Linked DNA regions of Homo sapiens: region 1 is linked to region 2. Evidence: promoter capture Hi-C in 16 types of primary human blood cells and fetal thymus (Javierre and others, 2016). All regions are on one chromosome and are shown on one strand. Each heading gives the region's core, a stretch centred on a gene start or on the middle of the fragment in contact. The rest is flanking DNA. Distances are from core to core; before and after follow the strand shown. Region 1 holds the start of ZNF862 (zinc finger protein 862). Region 2 holds the start of ASIC3 (acid sensing ion channel subunit 3).

Region 1 (4,533 bases), core at 429-2,928, 1.2 Mb after region 2:
AGAGCGGTGTTGATGGAAACCTTGTTATACAGCGCATGACCGTATTTCTCTTCTCCCGTTAAAGGCTAAGAAAGCCTCTGACTGAACAGAATAGCTTGGAAATCAACTTCAAATCACTGATACCAATATCAATCCCAATATTTTATAATCCTTCTTCCCCCTACATTTTGCTTCTCTTTATTCAAATTCAGGTTCAATCTAAACCAATCTGGGGATATTTCCAAAGGGTAAGGGCCATAAGCTCCATCTTTGCTTGGGTTTTGTTGAGCTTTATTGGCTTGGACCACGTACTCTGTAGGTGCCGTGTCTGCTACATGCATCACTGTAGCTTGTGGAGGGAGGGAGGATGGAAGAGATGCTCATGCGAGAAATCACCTCTTTTGAAATTCAGAGTCCTTCCTAGTCTTCCCAGGAAAAACTACAGCATCAAAAGAACCTCATTATCCTTTTCTCTCTTTTCGTGTGGGACAACCCTTTCAGGCGTGTCCAAGTTATTGAAGTGAAAACTGCAGGAGAGCTCCTTGAGAAAGGTGATCATTTCCTATTTATCCTCATACTTCCAGCATCTCGTTCAATGCAAATCACAGATCACAAATGTTTATTAAATGGACAGTTTTTTAAGGGACTCAATAAACAGTCGAAAACGTTTGTTGAGAGAATTCTCCTCTGTGCCAAATAAGAAACAATACTCAAGAACTGGCAGCAAACAACATCCAGAAAGATGTTAGTCCCAAGAGGCTGCCACTGTCTCCAAGCTAATGTGCCCACAACCACACTGGTCTTGGATGACACGGCCTGGAAGCGCTGGCAATCCCGTCAAATCCCTGAACTCCGCCCCCAAGCACTTTCTTTCCACCTTTTCTTCCAACTCAAAGCCTCTTGCCCAAAGCCAATTTATGACACAGGTTTCTAAGCAATGCCCAGATATTCCATGAAGTACATAACCTAGAAACAGAAGTGGCAAAAAGCATGCCAGATGCCCTCTCTTTTCAGCCCTTTCTTGGTAAGGAGGATCTAGGCAGGGTCAAGCCCTCAAGCGTCCCACCCTGCAGCTCCCACTGGCGTCCGATCCAGACTCCAAGCCTTAGCAGGGCCTCTTCAAAACGCCGAAGGTGGTGGGGAAAACAGGAAGCACCTTCGCATCGCTCCACTCGGGGGTCACCCAACCCAGCATCGACCCAGCGGACGCTCGGCAGCTCGGGGAGGATGCGCGGACACCGAACGGAAGCGTCCGCTCCTCTCCGCCACCCTCCCGGGGTCGGGCGCCGAAGTGCGGGAAGAGAGGGCGGGCCGGCGAGTCCTTCCCTGCAAGCCTGGCTCATCTGCGGGGCCTCCGCCCGAGCCGCCCCGCCTCGCCCGAGCCCGGCTCGGGGATCCTCGGGAGGGAGCGGGCGGCCCCCGGGCCTTCCAGTCCTACCTTCCCCGACTCTCTGGGCTCCATGGCCCCGCTTTCGGAGGCCCGTGCCGCCCCCTCCCCCCGCGGCCTGGCCTGAGGATGCAGCCGCCGCGACCGCCCCGGGGACCCAGGCTCCCGGAGGGGGAGGGCACCCAGGTAGGGAGGGAGCGCGGCCCAAGAACTTCGCTCTCTCACGTCGGGGGGCGGTAGCGCCGGTGGACCCAGGATAAGCGCGCTGAGCTGAGACTTGCGTCGCACCGAGCGAACAGCTTTACGGTCACTGCCCAGCCCCAGGCGGCGGGGCGTGACGGGAAGTGTAGTCCGCTCTAGGTGAGCGGCTCTCGAAGCTGCTATTGGCTCCCGGAACGCAGGTCCTGATTGGACGCCGGCGGCGCGCTTGCGACCCTCCCCGCCTCCCTCCGGCGACAGTTACTAGGCAACGGCGGCGTGGCGTCCTTTAGTCCTCTGCAGCAAGGGCAAAGCGCTCTGATTGGGCTACGCGAAGGCCAATGTCAGCCTTGAAGTTCTAGGTTTTCTTTTATTAAGGAGGGCAATACTTTTTGTTCTATTCACTCAAAAAGTATCATTGGTTGCCTACCATGGGTCAGGCCGTGTTCTAGGGTTTGGGAGAACACAGTTGAATGAGACAAAGGCCTTGCCTTCAAGGAACTCACGATCTATTAGGGAATCAGACCAGAAACAGATAATTACAAAACAGAGACAAGGGCTATGAAAGAGGTAAGCACAAAACATGAATTAAAGCCCGCGTTGTCACCTTAGAGTGAAGCGGTGGGGGATATGAGGTGCTTAGTCAAGGATTTCCTGCGGAAGTGATGCCTCAGCAGAATTAAAGCAAGAGGTAGGGTCTGCCAGGTAAAGGAGGTGCAATGGACTGACCGGTGTTCCCCTCCCAGGAGATGGGGCGTTTGGGAGGTTTAGATGAAGTCGTGAGGGTCAGGCCCTTATGGTGGGATTAGTGTCCTTATAAGAAGTTTTGTCCAAGTGCGGTGGCTCACACCTCTAATCCCAACTCTTTGGGAGGCTGAGACAGGAGGATCACTTGAGCCCAGTAGTTTGAGACCAGCCTGTGCAACACAGTGAGAGATCCCATCTCTATAAAAATAAAATAATTTTGTGAGGTGGAAGGATCACTTGAGCCTGGGTGGTCGAGGCTGCAGTAAGCCGGGATGGCGCTTCTGCACTCCAGCCTGGGTGACAGAGCAAGACCATGTCTCAAAAAAAAAAAAGACTTTTAGGGGGCCAGGGCAGGGATGTGCCTTCATGAAGGTGTTAGTGACCACATGCGTGCTGGGGGAACTAGCTAGGCCCTTTGCCCTTCTGCCCCTCTGCCTTCTGCCATGTGAGGACAGAGCAAAAAGGTGCCCTCCTGGAAGCAGAGACCAGGCTCTCACCAGACACAGACACTGCTGGTGCTTTGATCTTGGATTTCCCAGCCTCCAGAATCATAAGAAATAAGTATCCATAATTTATAAATTACCTAGTTCCAGGGATTTTGTTACAGAAGCACATAGAGATTAAGACAATGGTCAACTAATTTTTTTGTATTTTTAGTAGAGACAGGGTTTCACCATGTTACACAGGCTTCAAGTAAGCGTTTTCCATTATCCAGCTCTGCTCTTCTGGCCAAGGTTGAATAGACCTAAATTCCGTTCGAGGAGTGTAGGGGAGTCTGCATTACTGAAAAAAAGAATGAGACACAAGAAATGTGGAGGAGAAGGCAGAGAGTGAGGACTCTGTGGATTCCAAGTGGCCTGCCACTCACCACCTCGACTATATCACTACCTTGAAGAGCTATATTTCTGCCCATGAGTTATCCATGTCTTTATAACAGATTCTCTTTTAGGGGTTAAAAAACTGGAGGACAGCTAGGGTAAATCATTCTTTTGACACATTTTTCCATAAAAGGTTTTCCATCTTTCCAAGAAAAATGGAGCAGTATCTAGGGGGAAATGGGGAATCAAAGCAGTAGGACTAAGATATGAGTCACAAGATCTTGTTTCTGTGTTGATGGGAAGGAAACTGATGATTCAAAGGGGGATAGTGCAAGGAACCAAGTCCTTGAGAAATCAGGAGGGTCTAGGAACAGGGTATCGAGGGCCCTTCCTAGGGATAGGAACACTTTTTTTTTTTTTTTTTTTTTTGAGATGGAGTCTCTCTCTGTCACCCAGGCTGGAGTGCAGTGGCTCAATCTTGGCTCACTGCAACCTCCACCTCCCAGGTTCAAACAATTCCCCTGTGTCAGCCTCCTGAGTAGCTGGGACTACAGGCGTGCACCATCACACCCTGCTAATTTTTGTATTTTTAGTAGAGACAGGATTTCACCATGTTGGCCAGGCTGGTCTCGAACTCCTGACCTCAAGTGATTCACCTGCATTGGCCTCCCAAAGTGCTGGGATTACAAGCCTGAACCACCGCGTCTGGCCGGGATAGCAACACTTTTGGTTATGCCAGGAGGGAAGAAGAAGATGGAGTAGATGTACATTTGTTTGTAGATTTACTGAGGGAATTTCCATCCGATGATGTCTCTTTGAGACAAGATCATCTCATGAAAATGAAGTGGGGAATAGAAGGTATACCAAGTCATCTTGGAGAATGGGAAATAGAGCTTACCTCAAACCTTGAATTAAAGGCCAATTTGAAGTTTATGATCACAAATTTCAGTTTAAAAAAAGCCTGGCTGCGAAATTCTGTTTAGAAGCAGAAAGTTGGGTAGATATTTGGCTTCATCCTGGCTTGGAGTATTGCCAGGTAGGTATGAAGGAGGCACAGAAAAGCAAGGGAATGAACAGTACTTGCAGGAGTAATTATGATGGTAGGAAAGTGATTCTCAATTCCAGCTGCACATTGGAATCACCCATGGACCTTTCAAACATCCTGATTTAATAGGCCTAGGATGGGGCATGGGCACTGATTTTTTTAATTTGTTTAATTTTTTTGTTTGTTTTTGTTTTTTAAGAGACAGGGTCTCACTCTGTCACCCAGACTGGAGGGCAGTTGCGTGATCTTGGCTGACTGCAGTCTTGACCTCCTGGGCTTAAGGTATCCTCCCACCTCACCCTTCCGAGTAGCTAGGACTACAGGAGTGTGCCATCACGCCTGGCTAGCTGTTTTTTTAC
Region 2 (5,046 bases), core at 1,144-3,643:
TCCGAGCCACGTAGCGGGTTTCGCAGGCCAGGCGACACCCCATAAGGGTATAGGGAGGGCTGGGGCTGGGGCTGGGGGAGCCTAGGGGATCAGAGGGCTCTGGCTCATAGTTGGGGTTCAGAGATGCTGAACTGCAATCGCCCCAGGGCGGTGGCAGGAAGCTCAGCTGTGGGGGGACAGGGTTAAGGAGGCTTCCCGGAGAGCGTGAGAGGCCAGCTGGGGAGAGGCCCCTAGACAGGTCTGAGGAGCTGAGGGTTTAGGGTCTGAGGTGGTGTGGGCTTGAAGTAGTAGGTGTGGAGGCACACGGAAGGGTACCTGCTGCTGCTGGCAAGAAACAAAGGTCTGGTAGCCCGGGGACACCCCCAAGCCCAGCTGATCGATGATGGGCGGCTCCTCCTGGCTGTGGATCTGCACTCGGATCCCCACCTCAAACGGGGTCTCCTCTGTCGGGGAGGGACCTGTGAGGCCTGACCTGTGTGGTCAGGTCTCCTGCCCAACCAGACAAGACCTCTCACTGCAGCCCCTCTCCCCAGGACTGGGATGAGCCAGCCCAGCCCCTTTCACAGGTTCTGGGGGAACACCCTGACACCTCCTCTCCTCCTCTCCTTCCCCTAGCCTTTTGCACTCCATCCGTGCCCTCCCCCAGCCTCATTTGTGTGCTCCCTACCATTGTCCCTCCACACAGGTAGATATTCCTCCTGCTGCACGTCCAGCATGATGTCCAGCCCATTGCCCATGCCACCCCTAGTAGTGGTGAGCAGCTCTGCCCCATCAGCGCCAGAGTTAAATGTGTAGCACTTTCCCATCCGGGTGAAGATCTGGGGCGGGCAGACAGGGTGATGGCCATCTCCCCCAGGCAGGCACATGGTCATGGGACCTCTCCCCACCTCATGGTATGTTTGCGTCTCTTCTTTGAATACTGAAGCCCGCATCTCAATGCCCCCAGCCCCACGCTCCAGTGGGCACATGTTGCAGGACGCTCTTGGGAGCCCATCAACTCAGCTCCTCCACCCCGCCAATCCCCACCAAAGCCCAGGGCACAGCCTACAGGTTTTTCTGTGTTTCTCTGGGAACTGCAGGAAAAGGAAATGGGCCCCTGTGGCTGTCCTCCGGGGCTGGCAGTATGTTGAAAAGGCAGAGGGAAAGCAAGCCCCCCCCACCTCCTGGCAGAGATAGGGGTCTTCTGCCCCAGAATGGTCCCACCATGGAGGACCCCCAGCCCCAGGAGCAGGGCCTCCCTGGGCCAGACCTCAGGCCTAGGGCCAGCCGGGGTCAGTGTGGCCTCACATGCTCCCCTCGGGCTGGGAGACAGAGAAAGCCCCAAGGAGGACAGCTTCCTGGGCTGCACGGAGTGGCACTGGGGGGTGGGGAGTCCATGGCTGGTAGGAAGGAAGAGGTCCCCTGGCTTTGGGGGAGCCTGTGCTGGCTAGGGAATTGTGGGTGCTGGGCAGGGACTGGTCGGCTCTCTGGGTCCCTGGCAGGATAGGTAGGGAGGTCAGCTCACCGTGGTGAAGTTCTCAGGCCCACAAGGTTGGCCACGGAAGCGACAGTCCAGCAGCATGTCATCCAGGGAGTGCCCAGCACGGGCATAGAGTTGCGCCATGTCAAAGGTGGGACTGGGCATGAAGCCGGGCGGTGCAGGGGGCCGGCCCAGGGCGCGCAGGAAGGCGGCGTGCTCTGCGGGATCCAGGCCCAGCAGCGCAGACCCAGCCCAGTGCAGGTCGTTGGGCGTTAGGCGCGAGCGGCGCAGTGGGTTGATGTTGCACAGGGTGACAGCCGGGAAGATGAGCCGGTGGCTTTCTCGCTCATCCAGGGCAGTCTGGTGGTGGAACTCCCTGTAGTAGCGCACCCTCTCAGCCACCTGGTAGAGGAAGGTGGCCACTGACAGGACCACGGCCGCTGCCCACATCCCCCGGCGCAGGCTCAGGCTGCCTGGCCCGAAGACGTGGCCCAGCCCGTGCATCGAGCAGTTGCTGGCGAACACGCGGATGTCCGAGGCTGGCCGCCGGGCCTCCTCTGGGCCTGAGGTGGGCTTCATGGCCAGAACCCAGGAGCGGAACCAGCTACAGAGGCTTGGAAGAAGCGAGAGAGAGTCAGTCAGGGGGCTAAGGAGGCTAAGATAGGATTCAGGAGGCCAGGCAAGGAGAGGAGAAGAGAGGGTGGGAGACAGCCAAGGTTGGAAGGCAGGGAGGCACTAGCCTGGCAGGATTGGAGGAGGTGATCTGGCCGGTCAGGTCCCACTGTTCCTTCCCGAGGAACAGGCGGTGGCTCCACTGGGCTAGGCACTGGGCTGGGGACTCCGCAGCAGACCAGGTGGGACGTAGCTGACCGTGGCAGGCAGGGGCTGCGGAGCGGTGCTGAGCCGGCGGTGCTGAGCCGGCGCTGCTGCAGAGGATTGGGTTTCAGCAGTAGGGGGGAAAGGGGGCCGACAGAGCAGTCTGGGGGGTAGGAGAGGTCCCTAGGGCCCCAGGCTGAGCCATTAGTGCAGCATGGAGGGGGGCATGGCTGTCCAAGACGAGAGGCGCCAGGAGGAAACCGCAGTAATCCTAGGGAGAGCTTGAGAAAAGCCCAGAGGTAGATTGGGCCTGGAGATGCCTTGGGGCCCCCTAGGCTCCCAGTTGCAACCCCTGTACACTGGCCGCGAGGGTCAGTCGCTGACCCCTGGCCTAGCTCCTCTCTCCTTTTGCCTCTGCGGCCTTCCCTCTAGCTTCACCCAGGATCTGTTCCTTCACGAATACCAGAGCTGGCTCTTGGCCAAGCTGGGAAATGGTTGGAAGGCTGGCATCAGCAGATCTCTTCTTTCTGTGCCCCTAGCATCTCAGCCTACACTGGATGGCCAGGGCACTCTTCATGTCCCACTTCCAGGGCCCGTCTGTTTCCTAAGTGTCCCTCTCTCCCTAGGGAGTCAAAGCCTACCTCCCCACACTCAGGCCTCTGAGGATGTTGGCCTCTACAATGGTTATGGGCTCACCTGCCACCCCAGGTAGAACATGGGTGCCCCACCTGCCACCCTCCCGGGTACCACGGGTACCCCACCTGCCATCTCAGGCACAACATGGGTATTCTGTGATTTCCCATCTTACGCTGCTATATCCAGGACCTGGAAAACCTACATTTTTCCAAAGGGCTGCATACCACCCATTATGTGCACATACCATAGTTTATTTAATGACTCCCCCACTGATGGGCACTGGGGGTGTCCAGTCTTTCCATTACAAACAATGTTGCCGTATCATCACACAGATGTGAACTCCCAGGACTTTGGTGGGCTTTTTTTGACCATGAGTGGTAGAAACATGGTTCCACCAGCCAAACGTGTGCACACACCATGCTGCAACTGCTGGGCCACCTGTCTGTCCTCCCAACAGGACACAAGCTTCATGGGGGCAGGGACTGTCCTCATTCCCCATCGTGGGCTCAATGGCACATGACAGGTGCTTGATTAATAAACACTTTGGAAGGACTGAGTACCATGGTTACAGCACAGGCGTACCAGCTCCCCAGAGCCACAGTGCCATGCTTTGCAAGTATTTACTGTAGATGATCCCACTCACACTCTCAAAACAGGCATTCAGCATCAAGCACAGCTAGGCTCCCACTCTCCACTGTGGAGCGAAGGCCGAGGCGAGGTTAGGAAGACGGCGCGGCTCCTGCGGTCTAGCTCTTCCAGCTGGACTAGCCAAGGGGTTTCACTGCTTCTCTAGGGGGCGGGTGAAGGGCTGGATTTAAAGAAGCCGCCCAGAAGATATAAATCTGGTGTCAGAGGCATTTTGGGCAGCCTGAGGCTGATGACTGAGTGGGTGAAGCAGGAACCACCTTGGCTGGCTGCCTGGTGAGGGAGGGGTCAGGCCAACAAGCAGGGCCCCAGCAGGGCTTGTGGACTTGCCAGCTGAGGCCCTACTCTGGGCTGCCCTAAGGAGGGGTTTAGCTGTGAACCAGCCCCAGGCTCTGCTCCTGGACCTCCACTGCTTAAAGACACAGCCTCTGATCTGTCAGGAAGTGGGATATCAAATCAGGGTGGATGTGGGCCTGGGGTTTTTGGATGGCTTGTCCCCAAAGCACCATCTAGTTCTAAACCACACCCACAAGAGCCCGTGGGTCCCACTCTGGCTCCTGCACGCAAACTTGAGCCACTGCTGCCTCTTCCAGGCTGGCCTCCCAGCAGCACCAGCTGCTCCATCAATGCACTGTATCACACCCCTGAAAGAGGGTACCACCCTTCTTTACACAGGGTAAATCCAGAATGCTTGCCTGGCTGTGAAGGTGCATTGCAGGTACCACCTCTTCTCCTGCCCAGGGGAACAGGGCACCGTGTAGTCCCACAGCCTGGATGTGGCTGGATAGGGGAAGGATCCCAGTAGGAAGTGACAGCGGCACCAACATGGGGAGGGCTGATGCATCTGCAGCAGTGCAGGGACACGAGGTCCTGCTGGGGCACCAGTTCAGCCAAGGACCTACTTGTGTGCCTTTCCAGGCCCCTCAGAAGCCAGCTGGAGCCTAGCCCCCTCATCCACAGTCTCAGGGCCACAGGCGCCCATCACTCAGGATGTCTGCCTTCCCCTTTCAAGGTGCGCCTCCCAGAACCTGCTGGGGATGCTGGCCTGTCCACAGCCGCACCCTCCTGGACCGATTCTGTACTGGATTCTGCAGTAGCTGCTCCATTTAGCTCTGTACTCGTCAGCACTGTGGGCAGGAAGCAGAGAGCTCCAGGTGGGCATCAGCCCCTCCCATCTCCTTCAGTGCTGGGTGTTCTTGGTGTAGATGGAGGCTGGTTCACAATCTCAGTGGGTGAAAGACGCCAGGCACACAGGGCAGGGCCGGTGGAAGACAGCCAGGCAGGCTGGCGCTTCTCGTGGGAACTGGCCATTGTGGCCCCGTCCCTCCTACCCTGACCCAAGTGTTGGGCCCTGTTAGGCCTGTGTCCCTTGTGGGTGGGGAGGGGAGGTGAAATCTAGAAATCAGGACTGTGTTCACTGTGCAGGGAGAAAGGAGGGAGGTTGTTTGGAAGATGGGGACTGTGGGTCCCGGGGTGAGCCAGGGGATAGG

Evidence for each region. Contacts are between HindIII fragments. The CHiCAGO score rates a contact against its expected background, and 5 or more counts as called.
Region 1: the fragment with the promoter of ZNF862 here is called in contact with the fragment with the promoter of ASIC3 in region 2 in 1 of 17 cell types (fetal thymus); the score reaches 7.0 in fetal thymus.

Annotation. Positions count from the first base shown.
Region 1 is chr7:149,835,520-149,840,052 of GRCh38, reverse strand. ZNF862 (zinc finger protein 862) reads right to left here and starts at 1,678. Exons shown (of 8, transcript NM_001099220.3): 1 at 1,418-1,678. The coding sequence starts at 1,441. RefSeq lists a silencer at 1,143-1,602. The HindIII fragment of the contact is 19,921 bases long and covers 1-4,533 here.
Region 2 is chr7:151,045,878-151,050,923 of GRCh38, reverse strand. It overlaps ASIC3 (acid sensing ion channel subunit 3), which reads right to left and starts at 2,393. Exons shown (of 11, transcript NM_004769.4): 1 at 1,505-2,393; 2 at 668-818; 3 at 316-443; 4 at 1-166. The coding sequence starts at 2,038. It overlaps ABCB8 (ATP binding cassette subfamily B member 8), which reads right to left. Exons shown (of 16, transcript NM_007188.5): 16 at 3,142-5,046. RefSeq lists an enhancer at 243-881. The HindIII fragment of the contact is 11,911 bases long and covers 1-3,378 here.